Linked DNA regions of Homo sapiens: region 1 is linked to region 2. Evidence: promoter capture Hi-C in 16 types of primary human blood cells and fetal thymus (Javierre and others, 2016). All regions are on one chromosome and are shown on one strand. The core of a region is centred on a gene start or on the middle of the fragment in contact, and the rest is flanking DNA. Distances in the headings are between cores, read along the strand shown. Region 1 holds the start of PCDHGB1 (protocadherin gamma subfamily B, 1). Region 2 holds the start of PCDHB6 (protocadherin beta 6).

What was found. The method cuts DNA at HindIII sites, captures the fragments that hold promoters and counts their contacts. A CHiCAGO score of 5 or more calls a contact.
Region 1: the fragment with the promoter of PCDHGB1 here is called in contact with the fragment with the promoter of PCDHB6 in region 2 in 10 of 17 cell types (M1 macrophages, M0 macrophages, erythroblasts and 7 more); the score reaches 14.0 in M1 macrophages.

What each region holds. Positions count from the first base shown.
Region 1 is chr5:141,346,529-141,351,972 of GRCh38, reverse strand. It overlaps PCDHGB1 (protocadherin gamma subfamily B, 1), which reads right to left and starts at 1,874. Exons shown (of 4, transcript NM_018922.3): 1 at 1-1,874. The coding sequence starts at 1,712. The region is part of intron 1 of PCDHGA1 (protocadherin gamma subfamily A, 1); the gene reads right to left. All of the region lies in intron 1 of PCDHGA2 (protocadherin gamma subfamily A, 2), which reads right to left. The region is part of intron 1 of PCDHGA3 (protocadherin gamma subfamily A, 3); the gene reads right to left. It also overlaps PCDHG@. The HindIII fragment of the contact is 7,439 bases long and covers 1-5,444 here.
Region 2 is chr5:141,146,345-141,151,427 of GRCh38, reverse strand. It overlaps PCDHB6 (protocadherin beta 6), which reads right to left and starts at 1,371. Exons shown (of 1, transcript NM_018939.4): 1 at 1-1,371. The coding sequence starts at 1,170. It also overlaps PCDHB@. The HindIII fragment of the contact is 6,099 bases long and covers 1-4,657 here.

The DNA of each region.
Region 1 (5,444 bases), core at 625-3,124, 200 kb before region 2:
AAGAGGGCGGAGCCATCAGGCCCCAGCGCGGGGTACAGCACCCGTGGCGCATTGTCATTGAGGTCGCCCACCAACACGCGCAGGCTCACGTTGGCGCTGAGCGCGGGGGAGCCCTGGTCCCTGGCCTGCAGTGTGAGCTCGAAGGCGCGCAGCTGCTCGTGGTCGAAGGCGCGCTGCGCGAACACCACCCCGCTCTGCGGGCTCACGGACACGTAGGACAACAGCTCCCGCGGCTCCAGGTCACTGGCCAGAATAGAGTAGGAGACTCTGCCGTTGGGTCCCAAATCCGGGTCGGAGGCGCTTACTTGTGCAATGGAGGCGCCAGGTGGGTTGTTCTCAGACACGTGGACCACATAGGAGGCCTGATGGAAAACAGGTGCATTGTCGTTGATGTCGGAGATGTGCAGGGTGATGCTTGTCCTGGAGGAAAGGGCTGGTTTGCCCTTGTCGGTGGCTATGATTGTGACGTTGTAGTCTGCTGTCTGCTCCCGGTTTAGGGCTCCAGCAATCACCAGCTTGTAATAATTCTTCGAGGTGGATTCTAATTTGAAAGGAACTTCTTCCTGAGTATAGCATGTCACCATGCCATTTTGCCCAGAATCCTTGTCTCGCACTTTTATGAGGGCTATTACAGTTCCAAGGTCTGAATCCTCTGGAATCTGGTTAGAGAAGGACATGAATGTCACCTCTGGGGCATTGTCATTCTCGTCAACAATTTCTATTTGAACATTACAGTGAGCTGTGTGTACTCCTCCATCCTTAGCTTCCACACTCAACACATATCTACTTGTCTCTTCAAAATCCAATGTGCCATTGGTTGTGATGTCGCCAGTATTTGGATTGAGATTGAAGAGGCTGGTACTTATTGGGGAATTGAGGAAGGCATAGGTGATCTCTGCATTAATGCCCTCATCCTGGTCTGTGGCCATCACCCGCAGCACGGAGGTTCCCCACGGTACGTTTTCTTGGAGGCTAACCCTGTATACCTCCTGGCTAAACACGGGAGCATTATCATTGGCATCCGTAACTCGGATCCAGATATGGGTGGTGCCGCTTAGAGGCGGGTCCCCGCCATCCATGGCAGTCAGGATTAAGCGATGAGAGCTCTGATGTTCCCTGTCTAGAGGTTTTTCCAGCAGTAATACCGGATATTTACTTCCATCAGGACTTTCCTTCGTTGACAGAGAGAAGTATTGATTGGGGTTGATGGTGTATAACTTCAGTGAATTGCCTTCCACATCTGCATCTTGAGCAGAATCCAGAGAGAATTTTACCCCGGGTAAGGCTGACTCACAAATTTCTAAGTCAATGCCTTTTGCAACGAAACGTGGTGCATTGTCATTAATATCTTGGATTACAACAACCACGTGGAAAACATTCATTGGGTTTTCAGCGACCGTTTCGAATTCTAGTGCACACTCAAGTTTCCTTCCGCAAATCTTCTCTCGATCTATCCTACCGTTCACTAACAAATCCCCGCTCTCCAAACTAACGTTGAAATAATCCTCTGCACTAACCCGCAGTTTTCGAGTTGGCAACTCCCGGACACTGAGCCCCAGATCCTTGGCAAGTTTCCCCACCCGTGAGCCGTTGGCTAGCTCCTCTGGAATCGTGTATCGGATCTGCTGGGAGATGGCCCCGCAGAACAAAGACAGCAGGAAGGGAAACAGTACCTGACTTTTCATCATTTCGGCTTCTCTGGCTCTCTGCATTTCAGGAACTCTCCGCGGAGCTTCTTTCCTCTGGGATGTTTTTCAAAAAGAAATGGCAGCACCCTGGACTTCTGTGATTTGAGCTTAGGACTTATTAGTTAGGCGCTCGAGGGTGAACAGGAGCAGCGTCTGTGCTCAGTGCACCGGACAAAGCAGGAAGGCACCCTGCCTGACGCTCCTGCAGAATTGAGAAGCCTTCACTTCCTTTTGGTCGACAGCGGCGCCCAGAGGTTGTCTTGGAAAACTGCACAGGGCCCAGCTTTTTATCCTCAAAGCGCAACCTCTTGAATCTATGTACCCTGTCTTTAATTTGCTGGAGGGAAACACATACTCACATTTTCCCCTTTACATTTCAGTTTTCTAGTTTGTCATCATCAGATAAGGGCCTTCATCATTTCGTATTCTTTTTTCATTTAAAAAATTCACAAGGTACACTGCCATTTTTTTCAGTTTTGGGGGTAAAAAAAAATCTTCAGTGATTTCACTATATTTATAAACTCTGGCATGACTGCTGTATCCAAATAAGTGAATTGATAATTTTTATTTATATTTTTAGTTGACTAAAATACCTACCTTTCTGTAAATTCATTGGAATAAGCTCCCTTATCTAGTATTTTAAATCTCTCCATATATATGTTATCAATTCAGTAATACTTTTCAAAAATAGTTTTTGCAAAAAAGAGGAAATCACAGCCTTACTATTATGTTATTTCTCTTCTTTATAAAATATAGATAATCTTTCCAGTTAAGTAGGACAAAGTCTGATATTTTGTTAAAAGGGCCAATTTAGTGTTGGGGTACACATACATGCTTTTATGAAGTGGAATCTCATATAATGTACATTTGTTTTATGAAACCAGTGCTTCTTTTTTATATGAATGTATATTAAATACTCTAGGCTGGGTGCAGTGACCTGTGATCCCAGCACTTTGGGAGGCCAAGGTGGGAAGAACACATGAGGTCAGGAGTTTGAGACTAGCCTGTCCAACATGGTGCAAGCCATCTCTACTAAAAAAAATAAAAATTATCCAGGCATGGTGGCGGGTACCTGTAACGCCAGCTACTCGGGAGGTTGAGGCAGCAGAATCACTTAACTCAGGAGGCAGAGGTTGCAGTGAGTTGAGATCATGCCACTGAAGTCCATCCTGGGTGACAGAGCAAGACTCTGTCTCAAAAACATTCTCTATAATGCCAATTCTCAGCTCCAGCCGACTTATACCATTAATGAGCAAAACGAGTTTGACTTGACCACTGGTAAATATTGGAGAGGTATTCAGAGTTCTTAGACACCCAATTTTGGAACTTATTCTGTAGTTCCAGGCTTAGAACCAGTCTTGGTTCAAAGCAAATCCCTTTATTTCAAATGCATTACCAAATGAGATCCAACTCAACAATTTATTCTACTATTTTGCAGTGCTCACCCATACTCATACTCTATTCGAAACAGCCTATTATCTGTTTTCTTAAGATACCTTTTCACTTGTTTCCTTGCATCATGCCTTTATACTTTCCATTCCTTTTACTATGAACTTCTCCTCCCTTTCTGTTGTAGTGGATTCTTGCCCATTCTTCAAAAAAATAAAAATAAATCCTTTTTAGTGAAAATGGGATGTCTGAGACCTTCCATTACCTGTACAAGTAGGTGGAATTGTATGGGTTCCATACTCTCAGTGTATTTTCATGACACATATGTAGGCTATGTTTCATATAGAATTCTTAGAAATTATCTTTGAGCATCCAAATTTCCCCTGACACAGCTAATTAATTTTTTTTCTCCTTACAGGGAAAGTGATACTAATACTATAAACATTTTTTTTTCTAAAAATGATATGTTAAAAGTTACGTGCCTTTTTCTTTTGAGACAGGGTCATGCTATGTTGCCCAAGTAGGTCTCAAAGTCCTAGGCTCAGAAGTCCTCCCCTGGCTATGGGCCTTTTAAATTCTGTGATGTATTTCCATGTTTCAGTGAGAATACACCTTACTCTGCTTACAGCTTTTGTGTTCTGGCCCTGTTGTCTCATACATTTAAATGTGCCTTTTCCTAATATATTGAGGGAGGAATCTATTCTTTTGTTTGAGTTCTAATAAAACATATTTTGGTCTAATTTTGGATAACTCTCATATGATTTCATGAGTGAAAATAATTTCATAAATTGCAGAATAAGCCAACAATTTCTGGCTCAAGAAAGTTGTAGAACATGACAAAAGAAGGGACTTCTATTCCATTGTTGGAAGAGATTGTCTGGAAATCTCCCGCAGAGGCTGAGACATATTCCTTTACATGTTTTTGATGTCCTTCTCAAGGACAAGAAATACCACTCCAAGGCTCATAATAATTTAGCTAGGTGAGCTTTCCACCCTCAGGCAAAATGTTGAAATCAAAATGAATACACACATAAGCATATACATTAGGCATATGTAACAGGCACTATAGGTAAAACCATTTGACCAGCCTCTACTTTTTTTTTTTTTTTGAGATGGAGTCTCTCTCTATTGCCCCAGCTGGAGTGCAGTGGCCCAATTTTGGCTCTCTGCAACTTCTGCCTCCTGGGTTTAAGCAATTCTTCTGCCTCAGCTTCCCAAGTAGCTTGGATTACAGGCGCCCACCACCATGCCCAGCTAATTTTTGTATTTTTAGTAGAGACAGGCTTTCACCATGTTGGCCAGGGTGTTCTTGAACTCCTGACTTCAAGTGATCCACCTGCCTCAGCCTCCCAAAGTGCTGGGATTACAGCATGAGCCACTGCACCCAGCCTCTACATTTTTGTTCTCCAATTTTTATGTTATTGAGATGAAAAGAATAACAGGCCAGGCATGGTGGCTCATGCCTCTAATCGCAGTACTTTGGGAGGCTGACGTGGGCAGATCACTTGAGCTCAGGAATTTCAGACCAGCCTGGGAAACATAGCAATTGCCCCATCTCTACAAAAACAAAAACAAATTAGCTGGGAGGGTGGCTCGTGCCTGTAGTCCCAGCTACTCGGGAGGCTGAGGTGGGAGGATCACTTGAGTCTGCGAGGTCAAGGCTGCAGTGAGCCGTGATCATGCCACTGCACTCCAGACAGAGTAAGACCCTGTCAAGAAAGAAAGAAAGAAAGAAAGAAAGAAAGAAAGAAAGAAAGAGAGAAACAGAGGAAGGAAGGAAGGAGGAAAGAGAGAGAGGAAGGAAGGAAGGAGGAAAGAGAGAGAGGAAGGAAGGAAGGAAGGAGGAAAGAGAGAGAGGAAGGAAGGAAGGAGGAAAGAGAGAGGAAGGAAGGAAGGAGAAAGAAAAAAAGAGTGTCACCTGTCTTGGAAGGAGTCAAACATCATTTAATTTCATGGGCATAAAATATCTTTTATTCATATGTATTTTTACTTGTATGTATCAGGATAAGCTATACAGGTTGGAATGACAAACTCCAAAGCACAGGGATTTAAAATGAAAAAGGCCTATTTATCACAGGTATACAAACCAGTGTTGTGTTTCTCTCATCATAGTTACTCAAGGACCCAGGTAGAAGGAGCAGTCACAATTTCAAATAGTAACTTAGAGATCTGAAAATTCTCACAGTGGCAGATTCCTCTAGGAAGTGACACTTTACTTTCACTCACGATGTATTATTTTTTCCCTAAGCCCACTCAACCATAACCAGACCGGGGAGTGCAGTCCTACTATAGGCCCAGAAAGAAAGGGGGACAAATATTTAGTCAAAGGACTAATGACAACCTCATGGCTTTATTTCTCAAATACAT
Region 2 (5,083 bases), core at 122-2,621:
TAGAAAGGGGAGATTGTTCTCTATTGAACAAATAACCTGTTGGTTATGTCCAGAGTCTGCATCTGAAACACTGAAAACTGCCACTGTGATCTCTGGTAAGTTTTCTGGGATGAGGCTGATGAAGAACGACATGGTGAGTTCAGGGGCATTGTCATTCACGTCCAGGACCCTGACGACTAAAGAGCATTTTCCTGATAGGCCTCCACCATCTGTAGCCTCAACATCCACGTCATAAGACTGAATTTCCTCAAAATCCAAAGCCTTTCTCAGCCGAATTTCTCCTGTGATTGCGTTTATTTCGAAGGGTTGGTTGACGTCATCGACTTGAAACAGGGCGTAAGATACCTTCCCAAACGATCCTGCATCTAAATCTCTGGCTGAGACGGTAATAACCAGAGAGCCGAGGGGGTTGTTCTCAGGGACTTGTGCTTCATAGAGCTCCTGAGCAAACTCGGGGACGTTGTCATTGATGTCCAAAACCTGGATCTGAATCTCGGAGGTCCCTGACCGGGGCGGAGACCCGCCATCCAGCGCGATCAGCGTTAGCCTGAGTTGGGGCTGCTCCTCGCGGTCCAACGGTTTGTCTAGCACCAGCTCCGGGAACTTCCTGCCTTCGCTGCGATTGCGGGTGAGAACGTGGAAGTGAGGGTTGGAGCTGATTGTGTACCTCTGAAGGCCGTTGCTGCCGGTGTCTAAATCGTGTGCCATTTTCAAAGGAAATATCTTTCCTGGCATAGTAATTTCTGATATTTTCAGGAGCATTTCTCTGGCAGGGAATTCCGGGGCGTGGTCATTTATATCTCTGACTCGCAAGGAAGCCTGAAAAAACTGCAAGGGGTTTTCCAGTAACACTTGGAAAGGTAGCACACACGGCTCAGTGGAGCCACACAGCTCCTCCCGGTCCAGTTTTTCATTTAGCAGTAAATCATGGGTCTGTGGATCAAACTGCAAATGTTGTCTGTTCCCTTTGAAAACAACCCGAGCGCCCCGCGAAGCCAGCTCCCCCACCCTCAGTCCCAGGTCCTTTGTCAAGTTGGCCACAAACGTGCCACTTTCTGTCTCCTCCAATACGGAATACTGAATCGATTCAGAACCCACCTCTCCCCAAAGCATCAATAAAATGAAGAAAGCCACTTGCCTTTTCTTGTTCTGTACTTTAGTTTGCATCATGTCTATTATGTCTGAATACGGAAGAAAAATCCTTTTCAGCTCCCAATCACCACATCTACCGTCGACCCTCTCGGATGTCTTTGCAGAGATTTTTAAATTCGTTCTTACAACTTGTCTGGCGACGACTGCCTTCCCGGACACATCTATCTCAGCTTTAGCTGTAAACGTGGTCTGTATTTTTACTTGGCTTCTGGATGAAACGGAGTCCACCGAGTCTGCAGAGCTTTCATTCACTCTCTTAGCTTGTACCGCCACCACGCGTTCAAACTAATAACTTCATGAGATGTTTTCAGGTCAATAGCATTTCAGAAATCTGAGCATTATAAAGACTTTTAAGTCGAGTCAGTGTTTCTCAAACTGAGTGCGTGGACCGCATGCATAAATAATTGCTTGCGAGCGTTGGTTTTTTTGTGTGTATGTTTTTGTTTTTAAGCCAATTCCTGGGTTCACTCCCCTCTAGAACTTGAATCAAATTCCCTGGTGGTGCTAATTAAGGAGAAAGATTGAAGTGCAGATTCTACACTTCAGTCTTTCTCCTTTGATGCTTCAGCAGTGCAATTTATCTCTGATGAACTATTTAATCTATTAGTCCAAGAGGTACACTATTTAATTGTCCCAACAAACAATGCAAAACAACGAAGTTTGTTAGCAACAATAATGGTAAAATAAACAATAAATTATCTAAATTATATGACTCATAAATGGCATGAAAAAAAAAACCTACTTTGTTATATAGTTATGCCTGCACAGTAAAAAGAACAATTAGGCTATTAGGAGGAAAACTGAGGCCAAGAAGTACGTATGATACATGTATCTAAGTAAATTAAAGTATTTAAAAGAGGGACTAGAAGCAATCAAGTAGTTGTCATAAGCATTTTAGGATTCTACTCCATTTTTGCATGGATAGAATTAGACATTGTTTTAACAGTCTTGTGCATTTTATTTTTTGATCAAATTCCCCTCTTACATTATTTAATCAAGGTCCAAATATATTACCGTGTTGTACAAACATGATGCAACACAGAAAACAAACATTCAAGAATCACCTTCACCGTCTTCTCACAGCAAAAAGAACACCAAGTCCAATAAATACAGGCCAAATTAAGGTACTGTTAAAACAGGTGAGTTACATTTGAGTGAATGCCATGGAATTCAATGATGGAATATTATGGCTATATCCATTCCCATCTCACTAGTTTCTACTCAGATACATTGGAACATGTATCTCTAAACAAACTGAAAATGTGTGAAATAGATTAGTGCACATAGAAGAGGTAAAATATGCCAAACAATTCAATTCATTTCAGATTAATTTCATATTTATTGAGAGGTGAAATCAATTGAGTTCAAACAAAGTTCACTTCAGGTAAGGGCCAAGGTGATAGAAGATTAAAAATCAAGATATTTTCAAATACATAAATGCTAGGCAAAACAAATAAGGCTAAATAAAATCTAAACTCTGAATAGCTGAGATGATCTTGTAGTTCAAAATCACCTCTATGTAGCCAGAAAAACAAAAGATTATGAATGTGACCAGCCTCCAGGGTTCACTTGATAGATGCTACTGGGAACACACTGTTCCTTGAGAATGTAACAAAATGAAATTATGAAATAAACCAACAATAATAAACATATTGGACTGGTGTCATCTCTTTGCTGAAACAAGGCCATTATTTCCTGCTCAATCTTAAATGCTTCCTTCTTTCGGTGAGCATTCTGAGTTCTGATTCCAGCTTAACGGCATCCACAAAGTCTTTTATTCACTCTGTTTCTCTGAAGCACCACCAGGCATCCTCGAATATAGGTTGTTGAATTATTTTTTTACGTCAGAGCAAATTTATCAGCAGTACAGTATTTGTCAAACTCCATTTAGATCCTTGAAATGTCTTTGATAACATTGGTAGTTATATAGAAAGAGGATAATAGCTCAAAGTACCCCAAAAAGATATCAGTTGGGTCTATCAAGAAACTGCCTTTTTATAGAAAATGGATTACGTTAGATTGTTTCAGGAGAATGTTTCTCTGTGTTGCCCTCTTTTGCTTTGATTTGATTGACTAGAGTAGAGTTGAATTAAGTTTGCATTCGTAAACATGTTCTCACAAGGACTCATTAACTTAAAATTTTTATTATGGAAAAATTCTAACATATACAAAGTAAACAGAATAAGCCTCTGTACACAATCAGTTTCACAACATTCTGTTGTCTTGTTTTGTCTATACCTTTCTCTCCATTCTCTGCTTCCCGCTTAATGATTACTTTTGTATAGTTCTTTTCTTAAGGCAATGTTTACAGAAATTGAAATGCACCAATCTTAACTGTACCATTTTAACAAATGGATTCATGTGTGTAACTCACACTTTTTTCAAGATACGGAACATTTTCATCATTCACTGGAAATCATCTTAATCATATTTTGAAGCTCAGTTTTGTTAACTGGGGAGCAAAACCTTGGTCTCATCTGGACACATGATGGAAAAGTAGACAATGTGAAAAAGCACCATGCCCCATATTCTTTATGCTCATGTATGCTAAAGTGAAGTGATAGATTAATTTAGCTGGACTGTTACCAGCAAGCTGAAATAGTATTTCAACTGACTGAACATTGTAAAGTATGTTAAAATTAATTTTATTTAGTTAGCCTGTAATGACAGGTTGAACAGCCCTTGTCCAAAATGCTTGAGACCAGAAGTGTTTCAGATTTCAGATTTTTTAGATATTAGAATATTTGCATGTACATACCGGGATATCTTGGTAATGAAAACCAAGTCTAAACATGAAATTCATTTAAGTTTCATATACATCTTATACAAATAGGCTGAAGGTAATTTTGCTTAATATTTTTAAACAATTTTGTGCATGAAACAAAGTTTGCATTACGTACTTATGTGTGGAATTTTCTACTTGTGGCATCAGGTTGGCTCAAAAAGTTTTGGGTTTTGGAGCAGTTCCTATTTTTGGATTTTTGGATTAGGGATGCCCAACCTGTACCTGTACTACATAGCTGATCAAGCTGATTTCCATTTTATGTTTCAGTTAATCCCATTATAATTTTAAAAAATTATTCAAGTTTATCAAAAGAGAAAGGAAAAGACCTTCAAGGACAAATTGAATCTCTTAAAACTCTTCTTTAGTTATATAGAAAGAAAAACATAGTAATACAGGGAAAAGTTAGAGATGATATATAAGCAATCACTTAAAGAAACTCAATTAACAGGAGATATGTTGCAAGGAAGTTGAAAATATAAAGGATTTGATACTAAATCACATTTGAAATCTGAAATGATTGGGTAAGACTTTTTGTCAGTATTGCTAGAGGTTTGTCATTTTTTAAAATGTTTTTCAAAGAACCAGTTCTTTGTTTCTTTATTGCTTTCTCTATTTGCTTTGAATTTTCTTGATTTCTTCTATTATCTTTGTTATTTCCTTATTTCTGAATGCTTTGGGTTTATTTTCCTCATCTTTTTCTAGATTCTCGAGGTAGAAGCTTGAAACTGATAAACTGGTGGGTGACCAGTTTGAGAATTTTCCTCTTTTCTAATGTACATATTTAGTGCTATAAAATTTTCCTCTCTGCACTGTGTTAGCTATGTCTCACAAAATTTGATGTGTTGTATTTTCACTTTCAATTCAGGTCAATGTATTTTTAAATTTCCCTTGAGATATTCTTTTTGATTCATAGATTATTTAGAAGTATGTTGCTACATATCCGTGCACTTGAAGGTTTTCCTCTTATCTTTCCATTATTCATTTTTAGTTTAATTTCATTGTGCGTAGAGAACCCACTCTGTACGATTTCACTATTAATTTGGTTGAGGTCAGTTTTACGGCTGAGGTTGTGGTTATCTTATACAGGTTCTGTGAGCATTTGAAAATAATGTGTATTCTGGTATTGTTTATTCTGGTGTATTCTAG